Linked DNA regions of Homo sapiens: regions 1 and 2 are each linked to region 3. The links are contacts of gene promoters, found by promoter capture Hi-C in human tissues and cell types (Jung and others, 2019). All regions are on one chromosome and are shown on one strand. Each heading gives the region's core, a stretch centred on a gene start or on the middle of the fragment in contact. The rest is flanking DNA. Distances are from core to core; before and after follow the strand shown. Region 1 holds the start of LOC124908001 (a long non-coding RNA gene). Region 2 overlaps RAMP1 (receptor activity modifying protein 1). Region 3 holds the start of RAB17 (RAB17, member RAS oncogene family).

Region 1 (3,561 bases), core at 177-2,676, 350 kb after region 3:
GGGAGCAAGTAGACATCATTGGCTTTGATGGCAGCAATGGCCCATCTGGAGAGGCCACTGTGAAAATGCCAGCTGCAGTGGGGGAGGTGTGGTCAGGGCGGCATGCTCCACAGAACAGGCGGGAGCCCCGGCCCCTACTGAGTCGGCAGGACAGAAGCCCCATGCTCCCAGGCGCAGCTGCAGCCACTCAGCCTCAGCTCCAGACCCAGGCATCCGTGCACTCTTGGGGGCCCAGGAAGCCCCTTACCCCTGCAGGCTTGAAAGTGTCTGCTCCTGCTGCCTGGCTTCCCACTGCTCCCAGTGCCCACTCTATGGTAGAGCAAAGCTGTGGCCCATCCTGGGCACTGTCATGACCTGGCTGAGTGCCTGATTTTGGGATGCTGCTGACATGCCAGCCCCCTGGAACCTTGCCCCCTCTGGACTTTGGGTGTCAACCAGCATGGGAGGGAAGCCAAAGGGGTGCTGAGGGCAGCTCAGTGAGGGCCTGCAGGTGCCCCTCAACATGAACAGCTTGGGTGCCGTGGATGGCACATTGATGGCAGCAGGAGGCAGACAGGCTCCTGAGTGGGAAGAGGAGGGTCCCCAGTGAAGCCCCACATTCAAGCCAGGGACAGCCTGAAGCCTAGGGGCTGGGCTGTCAGTTACAGATGGAGTCCACAGCCTGGAGTGAGAACTTATGGTACTTTTTCCAGGCCCACCTATGGCTGCCCACGGTCAGCACACACTTCCTCCCTTCTAAGCCCATAAAAACCCCAGACTCCCACAGACATCAGGACTACCAGCTGCAGGAAGGAAGGGACGACCTACTTTGGGTCTCCTCAACTTGTCGGGACAACCTGCCTGTGGACAGGAGCTACCCACCCTGGGTCTCATCTCCATTGAGAGCTGGACACTCATCAGGATGCCCTGCCTTCAGAAAGGAGCTACCCACTCCGGATCTCCTCTCTGCTGAGGGCTGCATTCATCAGAACTACCTCCCTGTGGAAACAAACTACCCACTCTGGGTCTCCTGAGAGCTGTTCTGTCACTCATTAAAATTCCTCTCCATCTTTCTCACTCTCCAGTTGCCAACGTACCTCATTCTTCCTGGACATGGGACAAGAACTCACCACATGGTGTGACTGAAAGAGCTGTAACACAAACAGGGCTGAAACATGCCCCCCAACCCCCCACTCACCGTGTTGTGGGCAACAAGAAGGAGAGAAGACCTGTGGCCCTTCAGGAAGCCCAGACATAGGGGGTCCCTGAGCCAGGGCTGTGACACCTTCTTTGGAGCTCTGTGGTTCCTGGTATTGCCAAGCTTCCAGGCACCACCATGCTCCCCTCGTCCAGACATAGGTAACCACAGAGGAAGCCGCCTGCAGTACATCTTATCCAGATGCAGCCTTGCACAGAGTTGGTGCCTGTGCCAGTGCCTGGAGCTGCCTGTCCCATAGCAGCAGCCAGTTCACCTGGCTGTGCACAGTGGCTGGACCCCACACTCACTCCACTTTGCTACTGGCTCACCCTTGTCAGGTGTAAGATCCCGGCCAGTAGCACGAGCTGAGTGCAGCCTGCCAGGCCAAGTGGGCAGAATGAGCCAAGTGGGCCTGAGCAAAAACTCAGGCAAAGGCACCACCAGCCACAGAGGTTTCCAACTGCAAAAGCAACAACCTAAGGATCCTGAGGCAGCTTGAGAGACAATGGAGAGTAAGACAGCAATAGACAGAGGCAGGGCTGTGGAGCGACGCAGGCCTCCAAAGAAGAGAGAAGTTTCCATTCCTGAAGCCTTCTGGAATCTGAAGTTTGCTGCCTGGACTGCCCGGTTTTAGTGGAAGAAAGCTTGCATGGGTCTCTGTTTGTTGCTACCAAAGACTCTTGGCTAGAGCAACGTGGATGAAGGAAGGTTGAACCAAAGACATGACAGTGGTTCCGAGGGGCTGGGCAGCCTTTGTGGCCTCCCACCACCACCTCAATTAAGCCAAGCGGTGGATGAAGAGAAGCTTCTGGGCTGTCAAGTGCCTGCTTCTTAAAATCACTTTGGAGAACCCAGGGAGTGCAGGAGGCAAAGCAGCGCCCCCTGCGTGAGTCATCCCCATTTGAGCAGCCTTCCCACCCCGACCTGAGACACAAGGCCACACTTAGCATCGAGGGAGACCAAGTGATGTACCCAGCTTCAAGCCAGGCTTTGTTACAGAGAAGAAAGGAAGGGTAGATGTTGGCATAGCAACCAGCATTGTCTGCAACTCTCTCTGCTGCGTGTCTCCCCATCAGATGCCCCCTGGGAACAGGGTGCCTGAGTGCGACTCTTAGGCCTGTATGATAAAACTGGACTTCTAATTCCCTCTTTCACGTAAATCAGAGCCAGTCATATCATTTCTGCCCACAACCCAACAGCCGTAGCGAGCCACAGGGCCCTACCTGACTGCAGATGGCTGGACGCATGGGGAGCAGAAGGAAGGTAATGAACAACACCACCTCCACCAGCCTTTAACAGGAGTGACGTGGCTCTACGTGCGCTTACAGAAAAGGCCTTCAAGACCTGCCGTTAGCTGGAAAAATAAGAAGAGCAAGCTACAAAACTCACATAGAATATGATCCCACTTGGGTAAGAAATGGTTCAATTAACCCTTAATAGGCCAGGCATAGTGGCTTGTGCATGTAATTCCAGCACTTTGGGAGGCCAAGGCAGTGGGTTGCTTGAGCTGACGAGTTTGAGACCAGCCTGAGCAACATGGTGAAAACTCATGTCTACAAAAAATACAAAAACAAGCCAGGGGTGGTGGCACATGCCTGTGGTCCAGCTACTCAGGAAGCTGAAGTGGGAGGATCACTTGAGCCCAGGAGGTGGAGGTTGCAGTGAGCCAAGAATGTGTCACTGTACTCCAGCCTGGGTGACAGAGCCAGACTCTGTCAAGAAAGAAAAGGAAGGAAGGAAGGAAGAAAGGAAGGAAGGAAGGAAGGAAGGAAGGAAGGAAAGAAGGAAGGGAGGGAGGGAGGGAGGGAAGGGAAGGGAAGGAAGGAAAGAGAGACAGAGAGATGAAAGAAGAAAAAAAAGAAAGAAAGAAAGAAGAAAGGAAGGAAGGAGAGAGGGAGGGAGGAGGAAGGAAAAAGAAAGTGAGAGAAAGGAAGGAGGGAAGGAAGGAAGAAGGAAGGAAGGAGAAAGAGAAAGAGAGAAAGAAGGAAAGAAAAAGAAAGAAAGAAAGGGTTCAAGATGCAGATATGGACACATGGCTATATTAGCTTCCAATTGCTGCTGTGACAAATTACCACAAACCTGGTGAAAACAACACACATTTGTTATCTTACAGTTCTGGAGGTGAAACATCTAAAATCGAGGTGTCACCAGGGCTGCATTCCTTCTGGAGGCTTCAGGGGAATCTGTTTCCTGTGTTTTTCAGCCTCCAGAGGCTGCCCGAGTTCCTTGGCTTGTGGCCACTTCCTCCATCTTCACTAGCAGAGGAGCATCTTCAGAGTACCCTCCCTCCCTCCCTCCCTCCCTCCCTTCCTTCCTTCCTTCCACTCTCTCTCTCTCTCTTTTGACAGGGTCTCGCTCTGTCACCCAGACTATCATAGCATACT
Region 2 (3,621 bases), core at 675-3,174, 310 kb after region 3:
ACAGTGATTTTTTTTTTTTCTTTGAGACTGGGTCACACTCTGTCACCCATGCTGGAGTGCAGTGGCATGATCTCCGCTCGCTGCAACCTCCGCCTCCCGGGTTCAAGCAATTCTCCTGCCTCAGCCTCCTGAGTAGCTGGGACTACAGGCACACGCTGCCACACCCAGCTAATTTTTTGTATTTTAGTAGAGATGGGGTTTCACCGTGTTGCCCAGGCTGGTCGCGAACTCCTGACCTCAGGTGACCCGCCCGCCTCGGCCTCCCAAAGTGCTGAGATTACAGGCGTGAGCCACTGCACCTGGCCGAGAGAGAGATTTTTATCACATGAAGAAAATAGCTTCTTTCTGTGTTTTCAAGGTTGTGGCTTTTTTAAAATCAGAAAAGAATATTGAGTTTTCTCAAATGCCTTCTCAATGCGTATTAAAATGACGGTACATTTTTTTCCCATGGTGTATTAAAGTGTGATTTTGTAGTAACAGGTTTAAAGCATTCCTGAAATTAGCCCTCCTTTAAATAAAATATGCTATGTGGCTAGATGAAGTTTGTTAGCATTGGGTAGGGGACTTGAGTGTCTATTTATAGGTGGAAGCGAAGGGCATCTGTTCCGTCCGTGTGCGCATGCGTTGAGACGCATGTCATGCCATCTCAAGAGGCTTGGGATCAGGGTTTGTTAACTTTTTTAAATGAACTGGGAAGCTGCACATCTTTTTCTTTCACTTTAAGAATTTGCAGTGGCTCACGCCTCCCACACCTGTAATCCCAGCACTTTGGAAGGCCGAGGTGGGAGGATCGCTTGAGCCCAGGAGTTTGAGACCAGCCTGAGCAACATAGTGAGAACCTGTCTCAATTAAAAAGAAAAAAAAAGAATTTGAAAGAACTGCCTGGGATCTAGTGCCTTTTGAAACAGCAATTCTTTAATAACATTTGCCATTTTTCTTCTTGGAATTCCTCCTTTTTAAGTCGATATTTGATAGTTTATAATTTAACCAAAAAGTATCCCAATTCACTGAGGATTTTCCAATTTTTAACAAACCTTTTTTACGTATTAATCTCTTATACTTCTTCTTTTTCTTTTCTGTTTTTTGTTTTTTGTTTATTTGTTTGTTTGTTTAGGACAGTGTCTGGCTCTGTCGCCCAGGCTGGAGTGCAGTGGCACGATCTCGACTCACTGCAACCTCTGCCTCCTGGGTTCACGGCATTCTCGTGCCTCAGCCACTCAAGTTAACTGGGACTACAGGTGTGTGCCACCATGCCTGGCTAATTTTGATATTTTCAGCAGAGATGGGGTTTCGCCATGCTGCCCCGGCTGGTCTTGAACTCCTGAGCTCAAGTGATCTGCCCACCTCGGCCTCCCAAAGTGGTGGTATTACAGGCGTGAGCCACCGCACCTGGCCTATATTGCTTCTAATAATTATTGATGGACAAATTATGTGCCATTTGGAGAGATTTATTTTGTTCTTTTTAAAAAATATCTTGCTTTGGATACTTATTTTGTTTATTTTCATTTATTTTTGTTTAATAAAATAATTTATAACTATTAATTTTTCTCAGAATTCACTTTTGCCCCATTCCATTCATTTGTACATATAGTATTGCCGATCTTGTTCTCTTAATATTTTGTAATTGAATTTTTAAATTCTCCTGTGACTTCGAAATTATATAAATGATCTTTCATTTCTAGGAATTCCATTTTTTTAAATTTATCCTTTTTTTAAAACTAATTTTTAGTTTTCAGTATTGTAGCCTGAGAATATTGACTTATGATTTATACTCTGGGGATTTGATGAGTCTCTTTTTGCCGCCTAACACAGACCCAGGGGCCTTTGAAAAGCCGGCTGAGTCTCTGTAGAATAGAACCTTTATCAGACAGTCACTGCATCGGTTTATTAACATTATTTTTCATAATCACTTTATGCTACTGTTTATCTACCTAGCCTTGGGAGGTGTGTTTAAGTCTCCCACGTGTCTTGCGTTCCTGGCAGCTGCGGGCTGTCTGTACGCTGTGGCGCAGTGCCAGCTGTCCTGGGTGGAGCATCCCCATCAGCCCCACTGATGGCCCTTCTCACCGGCCTGGGCCAGGTCTGCTGGGAAGCCCACACCCCTGCTCACCTTCTGTCTGCGTCTCCTGGGTACATCCCTCTCTCGCTGTCTTCCTTCAGGCTTTGTTTCACTTTGCCTTGGAGGTGGCCACTGTGACCAGAGTAAGGGGGATTTTTGCTCTTACCCTCCCTGCCCCGGTGGTGTCTGCAGTCTGGTTGTTGAGACCAACAGTGGGTGAATAATCACATGAGTTCATGGACAGCCACAAAGTAACACCCATCTATGAAGGAAAACCCCACTTTGCTGGGGAAGCCAAATATGATTGAAGCATCCAGAAAAGGCCTCTTTGAGGACGTGACATTTAAGCGAAGGGCGAGCATAGGGTGGCCTTGTGAAGATGAGGCTAAGAGCTTTCCAGTTAAAAGGAACAGCATGTGCAAAGGTCCTGAGGCAGAACACTGGCCACTGTGGCTAGAATGTGGCCAGCAGGAGGGAGGGGACCCAGTTGAGTGACCCACACAGAAGCTTCTGAATCTGGGACAGGTGTAATGGTGAGCACTGAAGGCGTGAAGCAGGGGTGGGAAGGTGTGGACGGTGGGCTTGGGCAGCGGCCAGGGTGTGGGATGTGGCCTGGAGAGCCCGTGGTAGCTAAGCCCAGCATGCAGAGTGGAGGGCGGTGGAGGGGTTTGATGGCTGCCCCTGACTAAACTGGGGGAGGCAGAAGAAGGGGTAGATAGATGCCAAGCCCCCACATACTCACTACAGAAAAGTGGAAGCTGGTATGTAAGTTGTAATAACCCATCCACCAGGACGAGTCACTTCTGCCCCATCCTGGGCACAGTGATGGGGCCTCAGGAGGGGAGGGCACCCTTGAGGGAAAGGGGAGCCATGATAACTCAGGGGATAGGCATGGCATGGGGGCCCTGAGTCACATGTGTTCACAGCCAGAAGTGAACAGCCCAGGCTTCAGGTGGAGGAGGGAGAATGGGGAACTCTCAGGTGCAGCCCAAGGCCGAGAGAGAAGGAGCACTTCGCGGGGGATGCCTCTCCTCCGGGGGCTGGTAAGGGCCCGGGGTCTTCAGTGAGTGAGGATGCCCCACTGCCACCCGGAGCAAGGCTGGAGTGAGGATGAGGTGGGGGCCTGGAGCAAGGGCGAGGTGGAAGAGGGAGGGGTAAGGAGGGATCGGGAGGAGGAGGAGGGGCTGGGAGGAGGAGGGAGGGATCAGGGGGTGGAGGAGGGGCTGGGAGGAGGAGGGAGAGGCCAGGAGGAGAGAGGGATCAGGAGGAAGAGGAGGGGCCAGAAGGACAGGGAGATGGAGGAGGGAACAGGAGGACCAGGAGGACGCAGAGGTCTCCGCAGAGGGGGTGGGGGGAACACAGCGAGGAGGAAAGTGGGGTCCTGCCCCCAGGGCCCACCCCGCACCCCCACTCACCCTTCCACAGAGCCCCTTCCTGCCTCAGAGTTGGGTCCCGCGGGGCCCCCAGTTCCACGCAGGAGGCCACTGAGACTGGAGAGGCCCAACGCCCCGTCCCCGCTCCCTGTCTGCCCTGCACGCCTCCCCCATGAGCCGCTGTCACCA
Region 3 (2,700 bases), core at 201-2,700:
ACTCCACCCCCGTAATACAACCACAAATGGTATTTTTGCCTACTTCTAGTTTTTTTCTATGACTCCTAAAAACAAACCAAAACCCATAGTTTTAACATAAAATTATTATCCGATGGGTAAGAAATACTTAATACCAAAGGCAGTCTCACACATTGCTTCAAAATCATGTTTAATGGACATATAACATTTCTACAACTATCTCAACTTGCTGAACCATTTTCCTAATACTGGATTTTTACTTAGTTTTAATTTTTTCTCTGTAATAAGACTGCAGTAAACATTTTCTTATATAACTTTTTGTGTGATTGAGTGTTGTAAGCTTTCAATAATGAGAGGTTGGAGCCTTCTGTCCAAAGAGAAAATTAAAAGTGTGGCACCTGACCCCCACCTCCAGAATTTAATCAAGATGGGGTTATTAGTAGTGAAAGATGTTATTAGGTTGTTGAAGACAAAGATGTTTTCAGGAACACCATATTCAAGACTGGCGCTTCTCTAGTAATCTTAACTTGGGGCTTTTTAATCTCTTGCACCTCCCTTCCACTAAAGGGAAAAAAAACGGAGAGCAAATCCCACATTAGTCTTTTTTGCGGGGAAGGGGCCATTCCAGGGAAGGGTCTGATTGATGAGTCTATCGGCAACTGTGATCCTGTGTCACCCTTGCCTGGGGCCTGTGAAGAATATTGAGATTACGAGAGGTACACCTGTACATTGCATTCAGAATACAGCCATCTGATACAGAAAACACAATGTAGATTGTAAAAAGGAGTTTACAAGAAAACCTGACAAGCTTCCTAGATATCACTGGGTATTAAATTGGGAATGTTGATGTCATTTGAAATGGATTTCTTTAAGAGTTCTTCTCATTACCAGAAGTTTTTTGTGTTTTTTTTTTTCAAGACCTTAAAACCGGAACTTTCCCGAAGAAAAATGCAAATAAGAATCTCCTTCTGGGAATCCGACTTAGTGAGCCATCAGAAATCTGAACTAGGAAGTCTCCGCCCCAGCTTTGTCCTTTGATTATACACACATGGGCACATGCACAGACACAAACAAATACAGACATGGGTACAAACACGTGAGCACACACACAGACACACAGAGACTCACACACAGAGAAGCAGAGACACACACACACACAGGCAGACACTCCACAAAGGGCACAGAGGTTTAAACAATGACTCACCTGTTCCCCAGGCCCGGTCACTTGCAGGGAGCTGAAGAGCCTGTCATCACCAGTCCACAGCGTTGCTACCTGTCTCCGCTTTCTCCTCTCTCTGGTCCAGGGGAAGGTTTGCTTCCCTCCACAGGCAGGACAGGACAGGAGGAGCCTCTACTCCAATGGAAAACAGCCGCAGAGCAGAGGTCAAGAGCAGCAGCCTCGGACCAGAGCAATGCCCACTGGACCCCAGCGCCAAGGTCAGGCCTCTTCTCCTCCCAGAAGGTTTCAGGGCAAAGTCCACAGTGGTCATGTGGTCACCTGAGGCAGGGCAGGAGGCTGGACCTCAAAGCAGGTGACCCGGGAGCACCTGCGCGCTGCCGGAAGTCAAGTCACATTCCAGTCCTGCATTTCCTGGCACCCAACTGGAGCCCGTTTTTCAGCTTTATTCCGGGGTTTCACTTCCAGGATCTCACTTTGGCACAGAATGTTTTTCTTGGCTCCTTCCTTGGAGCTGTATGGAATCTTTGTTGCACTTGAAAAACCAACAGCCCAGAAGAGAAAAGAATATTCCGGTCAGATGAATTAATTCCTCCCACTGTCAGCTAGAAGCCATCCCTGGCTGAGCCCTGCACTGGCCAGAGGCAACTGAGTGTGAGCCAGTCCAGGGTCAGATCCTGGGCTGATGCCACCTGAGGGCGGGGTGGGGGCGTGGCCTCCGTGCACATGGGAGACTCCAGGTGCAGGAGAGGGGGAGGTGGACTTCCTCTTGGTCTTCCCAAGCCATGAAACTTCCTGGCTTGGTGGTAACAGAAGAGTCTCCTCCAGGTAAGATTTCCAGAGCCTCTGAGTATGGCTGGGGTAGCAGGGTTGGGCCTGAGGCTGAGGAGATGGAAATCTGTTGCCGTGAACATTACTCCACACAGCCAGTATACGGGAAGCCAGCTCACTTTATGTCCTCCAAACTCACCCTAACTTCTCGTTTGGGTCTCATCCCGCGGGGCTGCTGGGAAATAAGCTCCGCCACCACAGTGGTTCCTCCGCCCTGTGGGAGTGGGGGGCTCTTATGCTGGAGGGGGGACACTGGCCTGGACTTCTGCTGAGGCTCTGCCCCTCATCCCTGCAGGACGGACTAGCCAGTCCTAACACAGGACTAGCGTTGCTCTACCACGTCCAAGCCTCCTCTGAGATTCTTCCTCCATGCAACCACTTCCCCTGGGGCGTGGCCACCTCCCTGGAAGCCGCCAGCATGCTCGGCTGGGCCCCCGCACTCTGGAGGCTTGAGAATCTCTCTATTTTTGAATGACGTCCTTATCCTCTGCCCCCAGGCTGGTAACCAAAGGTCTGGGGGTGGTGACGTGCTGGGAATGGTGTAACTCGTGAGATGGAGGCTGAATGTGGAAATACATGAATGTGCTTCTCTTCTCTCCAGTTCCCTTGAAGAATCCACCTTCCTGCAGGGTTGGGGGAGCGCAGAATGGGAGGAAGATACAAATACCAATTTTATAGCAAGAATGCAAAAAGAGGCCAGCGCGGTGGCTCGA

What was found. Contacts are between HindIII fragments. The study calls those that stand out against the background at their distance.
Region 1: a fragment that was not itself captured here is called in contact with the fragment with the promoter of RAB17 in region 3 in 1 of the 25 tissues and cell types used here (mesenchymal stem cells).
Region 2: a fragment that was not itself captured here is called in contact with the fragment with the promoter of RAB17 in region 3 in 1 of the 25 tissues and cell types used here (mesenchymal stem cells).

Annotation. Positions count from the first base shown.
Region 1 is chr2:237,943,501-237,947,061 of GRCh38, forward strand. LOC124908001 (a long non-coding RNA gene) reads left to right here and starts at 1,962. Exons shown (of 2, transcript XR_007088146.1): 1 at 1,962-2,587. The HindIII fragment of the contact is 3,137 bases long and covers 1-2,995 here.
Region 2 is chr2:237,899,066-237,902,686 of GRCh38, forward strand. All of the region lies in intron 2 of RAMP1 (receptor activity modifying protein 1), which reads left to right. Among named protein-coding and RNA genes, the nearest start is that of RAMP1, 41 kb to the left of the region's middle. RefSeq lists an enhancer at 1-97. The HindIII fragment of the contact is 6,975 bases long and covers 1-3,621 here.
Region 3 is chr2:237,589,284-237,591,983 of GRCh38, forward strand. It overlaps RAB17 (RAB17, member RAS oncogene family), which reads right to left and starts at 1,451. Exons shown (of 6, transcript NM_022449.4): 1 at 1,184-1,451. RAB17-DT (RAB17 divergent transcript) reads left to right here and starts at 1,877. Exons shown (of 3, transcript NR_187201.1): 1 at 1,877-1,984; 2 at 2,589-2,700. The HindIII fragment of the contact is 5,809 bases long and covers 554-2,700 here.